Linked DNA regions of Homo sapiens: regions 2 and 3 are each linked to region 1. The links are contacts of gene promoters, found by promoter capture Hi-C in blood cells and fetal thymus (Javierre and others, 2016). All regions are on one chromosome and are shown on one strand. Each heading gives the region's core, a stretch centred on a gene start or on the middle of the fragment in contact. The rest is flanking DNA. Distances are from core to core; before and after follow the strand shown. Region 1 holds the start of WDR5B (WD repeat domain 5B). Region 2 overlaps COX17 (cytochrome c oxidase copper chaperone COX17). Region 3 holds the start of TIMMDC1 (translocase of inner mitochondrial membrane domain containing 1).

Region 1 (3,262 bases), core at 694-3,193:
TAAGTGGGAGATAAACAATGTGTACACCTGGACGTGGAGAGCAGAATCATAGACACTAGAGCCTTCAAAGGTGGGAGTGGGGTGAGAGATGGGAAAGTATTTACTAGGTACAATGTATACTATTTGGGTGAGGGTATACTAAGCCCAGATTTCACCACTATGCAATATATCCCTGTAATAAAAGTGACATAAATCCATAAAAATTACAAAAAGTTGCTCAAAAAAGATTGGTAGTCAGAAGCTGAATTCTAGATGTGCTTTTTCAACTATCTCATTTTGTAAATGTAGTGTATGAATCTCAAAATTTAACAATAGACAATTTTTAAAATACCAAACTGCCAAAATTAAAAGAAACCGTCTTTTTAAATATCCAAGTTTTTTGGCCAACTTGGCTCTACTACTTGATTTTCAAAGGGATTAGTGGTTACTCATCCACAGTTTAATTGTTTTGTCATTTTCTAATGCTGCTGATGCGATGAGGTTTTCTGTAGGATGACAAGCTGCTGAGATCACAACATCTGTATGGCCTTGTAATTTCTGCACAATCTCTTTAGTCTGAAGGTTCCAAATGTAAACCAGGTTATCCTCGGAACCAGACACAATCCACTTTCCACCAGTAACTGAAAAATTGGCAAATATGCAATATTTCTCATTCTTATGACCAGTGTATGTTTTCAGGCACCTGCCTCTGCTATAATCCCATAGTTTAAGAGTGTTGTCCAAAGTTGCAGTGAGAATGTATTTACCATTTGGAGAAAATTTTACAAAAGAGACAGGAGGGTTATCGTCATCAACGAGCGTTTTTAAACACTGACCTGATGCAGCATCCCAGATTCTACAGAGGCCATCATAGCTACCTGACACTATCAAGGACCCACTACAATTAAAATGAACAGCAGAAACTGGGTCAGAATGAGCAGACAAAGTCTTGAGACACTTTCCTGTTTTCACCTCCCATATTTTTACAGTCTCATCAAAAGATCCCGAGATTATAAGGTTGGATGGCGGATTGAAGTTACAACAAAAGACATAATTACTGTGCCCCTTCAGTGTTTTCAAACATTTTCCAGATCTCACATCCCATAATTTTAGAGTTTTATCATCTGAGGCAGAAACAAGACGACTGGAATCTGATGACCAGGCAACATCCGATATTTCCAAATTATGACCATAGAGTGTTTTCTCATATTTTCCATCATATGCTCCCCAAATTATGATTAGCCTATCAGCAGAAGAACTTGCTAGCCATTCTCCATTAGGACTAAACTTAACTGATGACACTGCTTCCGTGTGTCCCACAAGAGTACATTTGAGAGCATAGTTTGGGTTTTCAGGCACTTCCTTGCTCTGATTGGCCGATGAGGAGAGGGCCAACTGTGCTTTGGCGTCTCTTGACTCCTTGGTTGCCATGGCTCTGAAGCTCCAAGTTAGCAGGTGTACTAGGCGTTCAGCCCTGAACCAGGCAGTCCAGTACTTTGGCTTTCTGCCCAGCAAAATGAAGATAAACGCACAGGATTTTAAAATGTACAGTTTTGAAAGCTTAAAGTTTCTGGACAGTCTTTAAACTGTGAGACGGAATCAGCAGCACGGCTTGGACTTCAAGTTTTCATCTTTTTGTTAAGTACTTGAGAAATACTGTTAGAAGGATCCTGTGCGCTGTCAGCAAGTAGGACACAAATGTTCGGCATTCCGTTAATACATAAAGCCTTCAAAGCAGGGGCGACGCGAGGGGCACTCTCTACAGAAAGTATTCTTTCACCGCCGCCCCCCTCCCCAGGTCGAAATGTTTCGGAATGCTGAGCAGCCCTACCAGTCAGGCTAGGTACTTGAAGATGAATGAACCGCCGCTTTTAGCGGATTTCAGAAGCTAAAAGCCTACGAAGCCACCGAAACTGGAAACTCTGGCCTGTCGGCTACTTTTGCTCGTACCAGCAGGTGTGCACTGCCGCGTCAATCTCCAACAAAGCCGGAAAAGCAGCCTGGCGCATGTGCAAAGGAAGTCCCTCCTACCACTACCGAGCCGAGATGACCAATGGGAGACGGCCATCTGCGCCTGCGCAAAAAAGTCGCCAATGTTCATTTCCGGTCTTTTTCGCCCCGCCCTTCAAATGCGAAAGCGACTGCCTTCTTGGGTGAGTGCATTAGCTGGGTAGGGTCTGTCCCGGACCTAACTGGATAGTGTGGGAAGCAGTGGATCGTTGTTTCAAAAACCATTTCTTTTTGGAAATTGTCACAGAGAAGGACTAGATTTGCGGATGCCTACCTTAGCTGCAGGCTTAGGCCCACACCTGACGCGTAAGCTGCCTAAACGGCAGCTAACGTAGATCCACCCAGACGCCGGAAACGGGGGAAGCTCCTGCTTTGCATGGGTTCCGCTCCCTCCTGTTTGTTGTGGTGTGGAGCCAGGTGGCATGTGTGGCGATGGAGTCACGGGGCGGGTGACAGAATTTATGCCAGATTGTAAAATTCCTGGTTTAAGTTTCCCCTGGAAAAGTTTCGTAAAGGTTAAGAAACGTGTCTGTTGAGGTCCTTTAAAAGCCGGTGCTCTGCTGGGAGTAACGAGCAAACGTTTGTTTTAGCATCTACGGCTTAAGCTTCCATAGAGAAGTCGGTATCTCAAAGTTGCTTGAAACAGAAAAGGACAAAGAGGTTGGTGGAATAGGGTAACGGATAAGGTTACTCTTAAGGAGGTTTTAGAGAGCTTTCCCCAGTTTTAGGAGATGATTAATGGTCATGAAAGTGTGTAAAATATACATGCTATTGAAGTTGCAACGAAAGACATAATTACTGTGCCCCTTTAGTGTTTTCAAACATTTTCCAGATCTCACATCCTATAATTTTAGAGTTTTATCATCTGAGGCAGAAACAAGACGACTGGAATCTGATGACCAGGCAGACTTTTAAACAATAGGTTTACCAAAAAACTGGAAGCCCTACTAGTTTCTCCAACCTGTTGTTGCTCAGTAAAGAGTGCCCGAGGCCGAGCACTCACGCCTGTAATCCCAGCACTTTGGGAGGCCCAGTCGGGCGGGACACTTTAGGTCGGGTGTCCGAGACCAGCCTGACCAACATGGCGCAACCAATACTGCTAAAAATACAAAAATTAGCTGCGCGTGATGGCGCACGCCTGTAGTCCCAGCTACTCAGGAGGCTGAGGTGGGAGAATGGCATGAACCAGGAGGTGGAGGGTGCAGTAAGCTGAGATTCCACCAGTGCACTCCAGCCTGGGCAACAGTGAGACTCCGTCTCAAAAAAAAAAAAA
Region 2 (3,183 bases), core at 684-3,183, 2.7 Mb before region 1:
AGCGCCTCTGCCCAGCTGCCGCCCTGTCTGGGATGTGAGGAGCGCCTCTGCCTGGCCGCCCCACCGTCTGGGAAGTGTGGAGCGTCTCTGCCCAGCTGCCCACTGTCTGGGAAGTGAGGAGTGCCTCGGCCCGGCTTCTGCCCTGTCTGGGAAGTGAAGAGCACCACTGCCCGGCTGCCCCACGTCTGGGAAGTGAGGAGCACCTCTGCCCGGCCGCTGTGCAACCTTCCAAGTGTGAAGTGACAGCCTTGTGTGTGATCTTTTCTGTCTTCCCCAAGTTTGCATTTTTGACATTAAAGTTTACTTTTTAATTAAAAAAAAAATGGCCTGAGGCTTTAGTTTTATTCGAATAAAGCATGCTACAATTCCATTTTCATTTTTCAGAAAGCAATACTTCCGTGGGATACCCACTCCCTACTTAAAAGCATTTCTTGGCCAGGCATAGTGGCTCACACCTCTTAATCCCAGCACTTTGGGAGACCAAGGCAGGAGGATTGCCTGAGTCCAAGAGGTTGAGACCAGCCTGGGCAAGATGGTGAAACCCCATCTCTAAAAAACAACACAAAAAATTAGCCAGGCACGGTGGCCCACACCTGTAGTCCCAGTTACTTAGGAGGCTGAGGGGAGGATCACCTGAACCTCCCAGGTTGAGGCTGCAATGAGCTGTGATTGGGCCACTTCACCCCAGCCTGGGTAACAGAGTGAGACCCTGTCTCAAAAAAAAAAAAAAAAAAGCATTTACTGAAGTCCCACAATATTTATTAGAAACAAGAAAGAGAATATGTTTCTTTTAGTTCCCTCAGTCAATTTTCCTAAAGCCATGGGACCTAAAGGCTTTTGTCAAACCCTTTCTTAAAAGCTCAATTCTCCCCTTCCCCAATCCGCTAAATGACTGTCTTTACTGACATAATTTACTCCCTTCATTGGGAACTGAAAAATCATGGTTTTTTCAAATTGATACTTAAGCATTTTAGATTAACCAGGTGAACTACCTTTCAGAGAGAATGTAGCCCAATTGTTGCTAAATCTGTAAAGCAATACACAACTTTGAAGCAAGAAGCTTACCATTTCATATTTTAAATCCTAGGGCTCTCATGCATTCCTTGTGGGCCTCAATTAGATGTCCACAGTGTTCTTCTCCTTTCTCGATGATACTATAAAACAAAATGTACTTGTTATCTAAATATGCATTAAGCACATTATTAAGTATGCATGATAGTGATGGGGAGTGAGACAAAACACGGGTATAATGGAATGTAGCTGGAATTAAAACAAACGCTATTACCTCAAACAGCTTTGTTTTTATTTGATCTTATGATATGCCCATGCCTATGAAGACATTCCACAGATAAGTGATTTTGGGGGGGAAATCTGATAAGAAATAATCACGCATATTAAATATTGCCTCTAGTCAATATCCAAGGAGTAACACTGCTCTATAAAGAAATAAACTGAGTAAAATATTTATGCTAAATGAAGGGCACAGAGAACAGCTCAATTTTTTGCTTATTATCACAGAGAAATTAACTTTCTGATTTTGCCCTACATTCAAACACAACCAAATAAATCTACTTCTAATTACATCAAAAACATCTGGTAGCCAGGAGACCGAGATAAACACCCCCTCATGATGATCAAAGAATATTTTACTTGTAAAATTCACAAAGTAAAGACTAGGACTACACAGCTTTATTTCTAAGGCCTGAAAATGTGATTTTGCAAATAATCAAGTTAAGCCCAATTCAATTACAAGGAAAAACTGACTCCTGACTATGGATATTTGGGGAGAACCCACGTGGTCTGAGGCAATCGAGGCAAAGGGAATTTAACAAAGGGAATAGGTTCTCCTTCCATGGAAACTCTACCCATCCTTCAATAGCTCAAGAGCTGCCTGCAAATGGGAGATTGCCTGGGATAGTGAGATCATTGTGAAGATAATAGCTAGCATTCATTGATCATTTATTGCCATGTATACTGTGTTAGCCACTTGACATGGCTTGTATCATTAACCTTTACAATAATACTGGAGGGAGTTTCTTTTATTAGAGTCATTTTACAGACACATGAGGCTCAAGGTCACCAAGTTAGTGGATTAAGATTCAAACCTTGACTGTGGATCCCAGACTCTTAATCATGCTGTCATACCATTCAAGGTTCAACAGCACTTACTGTTACCACTGGAACAATTTGTTCAGACTAGTCTTTCAATCCTACCCGTATTATTTACAAAGTACTGAGGATTAATAAAAGCACTGAGCTCCTACACTCTTATTATCCCATTATACCACTAATGATTTCTTTCTTATATCTACTATCTGGGAAGACAAAAGGGGCCAGAGGAAGAGATGCACATTCACGTTATCTGAGGACGTCCTCTAATGAGATTTGCTCCACAAGAGAGGCTATATAAAATGAGAACAAATCTTTTGTGGATTGACAATCTAGATGAACTATTCTTAATACTTTGTCCCCTGCGTCGTAGACTGATTGATTTTCAACTTTTGGTTGTCTTAAAAGGGTTGAAGCGTAACTCTTCAGAACTGTAAGGAATACACTCTGTGTCCTACTGTCTCTAAATTTTGGGAGAAAGCCTTAGAAATTACCAGAAAACCTTTCCTGTTTGGTCTTAACAAATCTATCATAGCCCTTACCACGTCGTATACAAGTCACTGGTTTATGTCTCCATTAACTTTAAGCTCCTTTATATCAAGATGCATCTTTATCCATGTCTACATCTTCGGACCTAACGCAGTGCTTAACCCATAACAGATACTCAACACACATTTGTAGGAAGGAATGAGTGGTTGAAGCTTGCCGTTCTCCTCTCTCTCCATCGTTTCCCGGTACTAAGCTACGGGATAAGTCAACAGAGACCCGACCACGAAACCTACAAGGCCCAATAATTATCTCCAGAGCGCCGCAATGGGGCGGGGCGGGGCGGGGCGGGGGGGGGGGGCAGACAGGGAGGAGGAGTGGGGGAAGGGGGGAAGGAAGAGGGCAGAGGGCAGAAGGCAGAGGGCAGAGGGCAGAAGGCAGAGGGCAGAGGCCGTAGGGCAGAGGCACCGGAAGGCACAGGCCGCGGCCCGGGGCTCGTCGGCCGCGCCCTCTCCGGCTGCGCACTGACCACGCATCGCGCGCCTTCTTGGTCTCCGGGCAAGCGCAGCAGGGCTTCAGCGGCTTCTT
Region 3 (3,381 bases), core at 419-2,918, 2.9 Mb before region 1:
TTTTTGAGTTATCAGGTGGCAAAAGGAACATTACAAATGAGTCTTCCGTTACCCAAATGAGAAACAAGTTATGGAATTTAAAATTTGCCTGTTAATATTACCTCATCTACAGGCTAGTGAATCCTGGGGCATTTGAGTTGTACATAAGTGATTGTGTCAGTATCTTCCCAACACCCACCCAAACCCTCCTACCCATTTCAAGTCCTCCTTCACCCCAGAATAATTCTGGGGTCATCTTATGCATTTAGCTTTTTCTACATATAGGTTAGAAACAGACTGTACAGCCATTTTCTTGGGCTTTCAGGCCTTGGTAACTTATCTTGGTGCCCACTTCTACCTAACATGGGATAAGCAGTAATCCAGAGCCAGAAGTCAGGAGATCTGAATTATTCAACAAATATTTACTGAGCACCTACTGCGGTTCTAGGTCCTGGAGATACAGAGATGAATATATTTGGTCTGTGATCTCAAGGATAGTTTATTGAGACAGATTAATAGGAAATTATGATGCAGTGTTGTAAGTGCTACGATGAGTGCTGAATCAAATCTCATATCCCAGAGTAGTCTTCATGGCGCTGTCACTAATTGAGCTGGTCACTCTAGTCAGTCACTTCTCAGGGACTTATGTGTAGCATTTCCAGCTATCAAATTCCTAAGTCCACTTACTGTATTCTACTACAGTGTGGCAGTTTTGATTGACAACTAGAAAGGAATCAAGGAGGTGAAGGGATTGGCAAAATGAATAAGGGAGTATGCTTGTTAACAAGGATTGAATGAAATTACACGAATATTGAGAATATTTTAAATGCATTCATTTTAATGAAAACTGTACTTCGAAGCATATGTTAGCAGAGGTTGTAGTGACGGCAAATTATACAAACACTTGATAGAAATTCCAGAAATTCTCCTGCCTTTTGAGAAGCAGTAGGCATATGAACTAAAGGGAGTGAAATCCACCTTAGGAAGACCTGCCAAAAAGCTGATTCTTCAAAAAAGTGTTCTCGAAATCTTAGTGTAACTGGCACCAACACCCATCCCCAATGCCTCGTTTTTTTTCCAGCAGAACTGACAAGGTACAAACGGACCCCGCCCAGCCTGGAAGGCTTCTCTAATGTTGGCAGAGTAGGTTGGACTTGTTTTTGCACAAATCGCCTTTCCCTCTTTCCCTACTCCACTTGCACTGAATATTGCACTTTCTTCCTTACTGAAGCGGGATTCCTGCCTTTTTTTTTTTTTTTTGAGACAGATTTTCGCTCTTGTTGCCCAGGCTGCAGTGCAGTGGTGTGATCTCGGCTCACTGCAACCTCCGCCTCCCGGGTTCAAGCGATTCTCCTACCTCAGCCTCCCGAGTAGCTAGGATTACAGGCGCCCGCCACCATGCCCGGCTAATTCCTGGCATTTTAAATACGATAAATTACTTCAACCTATGACCACCTCAAGCTGAATATAAGTAGCCGCAGACACCGTTTGCATGACCCAGGAACCACAAACACGGAGCGAAGGCCTGCCGGGACCACGCTGAGCTTCACTACTGGCAGCCAACTCACTTCCGGGGGTGCACTCAGCACAGCAGTGGCCCAACCCGCCCTCAACCGGAAGTCTTTTGGGCTCCGGCTTCGCCGTCGCCCCGCCCCCTGGCCTTTGCCCCGGTCGGGCGGGACTTCCTGTGTCGTATTTCCAAGGACTCCAAAGCGAGGCCGGGGACTGAAGGTGTGGGTGTCGAGCCCTCTGGCAGAGGGTTAACCTGGGTCAAATGCACGGATTCTCACCTCGTACAGTTACGCTCTCCCGCGGCACGTCCGCGAGGACTTGAAGTCCTGAGCGCTCAAGTTTGTCCGTAGGTCGAGAGAAGGCCATGGAGGTGCCGCCACCGGCACCGCGGAGCTTTCTCTGTAGAGCATTGTGCCTATTTCCCCGAGTCTTTGCTGCCGAAGCTGTGACTGCCGATTCGGAAGTCCTTGAGGAGCGTCAGAAGCGGCTTCCCTACGTCCCAGAGCCCTATTACCCGGAATCTGGATGGGACCGCCTCCGGGAGCTGTTTGGCAAAGAGTAAAAGTGCCTAGGGTGTGAAGTGGGGTAGGGGGCCGCGAAAGCGGTGTCCTGCAGCGTGGGCAGCCTGGGTCAGCCTTAGGACACCAAGGATGGTGTGCTTCATTTTTAGATTATATTTGAGGTTCTGATATTTGTAACCCAAGCTTGTATCTTTTTTCTTTCTTTTTTTTTTTTTTTTTTCCAGACAGGGTCTTGCTCTGTCGCCCAGGCTGGAGTGCTGTGGTGCTATCTCGGCTCACTGCAACCTCTGCCTCTGGGACTCAAGTGATCCTCCCACCTCAGCCTCCCGATTAATTGGGACTACAGGCGCGCACCACCACGCCCGGCTAATTTTTTTTTAATGTATTTTTTATAGACAGGGTTCTTACCATGTTGCCTAGGCTGGTCTTGAACTCTTGGACTTAGGCGATCCGCCTACCTCGGCCTCCCAAAGTGCTGGGATTACAGGCGTGAGCCACCGCGCCAGCCCAAACTCGTATTTTTCTTTCTTTTTTTTTTTTTTTTCGAGACTGAGTCGCGCTCTATCGCCCAGGCTGGAGTGCAGTGGTGCGATCTTGGCTCACTGCACTCTTCACTTCCCAGGTTCAAGCGGTTCTCCTGCCTCAGCCTCCAGAGTAGCTGGGATTACAGTTGCCCACTACCATGCCCAGCTAATTTTTGTATTTTTAGTAGAGACAGGATTTCACCATTCGCCAGGCTGGTCTGGAACTCCTGACCTCACGTGATCTGCCTGTTTCCGCCTCCCAAAGTGCTGGGATTACAGGCCTGAGCCACCGCGGCTGGACTGCGCCCGGCCTAGAAGGGCAATTATTTTATAGTAACTTAATACTTAAGACAGCTATTTGTTAGAGCAGTCTCAGGATGACATCTTGGAAGCTTCATTAGCAGTTCTAGCTTCTTATGCATTTGAGAGTAACAAATCGAATTAAATAGTAGTTTTTCCTTGTTATTTTAGATTGGCATGTGCCACCCACTGCATAGTGAACTTTCCCAGTGCGTTTTTAAAAAAACATTTATTTGTTTATTTTTAGAGCCAGGATCTTTGCTATGTTGCTATGCTGGATTTGAACTCGGGCTCAAGTCCTACCTCAGCCTCCTAAGTTAGCTGTGACTACAGGCGTGTGCTACTGTGCCCAGCCCAGTGCTTTTATTAGTACAGTCCTATCTGAGTATTTCATGAAATTATTTAGTAAAATAGAATTTAGATTTTTTGTCTTACATCCACGTTTTTATTCTTTCATACATTGCCCTAAAATCTCACGAGTTGGTGTGATTTCTAAAAGTTAACTTAAGATTTAAACGGAAATATTGGTCTCTCTATCCAACTCA

What was found. The method cuts DNA at HindIII sites, captures the fragments that hold promoters and counts their contacts. A CHiCAGO score of 5 or more calls a contact.
Region 2: a fragment that was not itself captured here is called in contact with the fragment with the promoter of WDR5B in region 1 in 1 of 17 cell types (total CD8 T cells); the score reaches 5.5 in total CD8 T cells.
Region 3: the fragment with the promoter of TIMMDC1 here is called in contact with the fragment with the promoter of WDR5B in region 1 in 6 of 17 cell types (non-activated CD4 T cells, total CD8 T cells, naive CD8 T cells and 3 more); the score reaches 7.8 in non-activated CD4 T cells.

What each region holds. Positions count from the first base shown.
Region 1 is chr3:122,414,119-122,417,380 of GRCh38, forward strand. WDR5B (WD repeat domain 5B) reads right to left here and starts at 1,944. Exons shown (of 1, transcript NM_019069.4): 1 at 1-1,944. The coding sequence starts at 1,410. The coding sequence ends at 418. WDR5B-DT (WDR5B divergent transcript) reads left to right here and starts at 2,088. Exons shown (of 3, transcript NR_125405.1): 1 at 2,088-2,132. RefSeq lists enhancers at 1,489-1,688, 1,924-2,741, 1,959-2,198, 2,229-2,278, 2,439-2,638 and 1 more. The HindIII fragment of the contact is 1,055 bases long and covers 1,538-2,592 here.
Region 2 is chr3:119,674,080-119,677,262 of GRCh38, forward strand. It overlaps COX17 (cytochrome c oxidase copper chaperone COX17), which reads right to left. Exons shown (of 3, transcript NM_005694.2): 1 at 3,125-3,183; 2 at 1,066-1,154. The coding sequence ends at 1,070. Among named protein-coding and RNA genes, the nearest start is that of COX17, 1.7 kb to the right of the region's middle. The HindIII fragment of the contact is 1,750 bases long and covers 1,059-2,808 here.
Region 3 is chr3:119,496,879-119,500,259 of GRCh38, forward strand. It overlaps TIMMDC1 (translocase of inner mitochondrial membrane domain containing 1), which reads left to right and starts at 1,669. Exons shown (of 7, transcript NM_016589.4): 1 at 1,669-2,049. The coding sequence starts at 1,856. RefSeq lists an enhancer at 1,409-1,458. The HindIII fragment of the contact is 2,873 bases long and covers 1-2,193 here.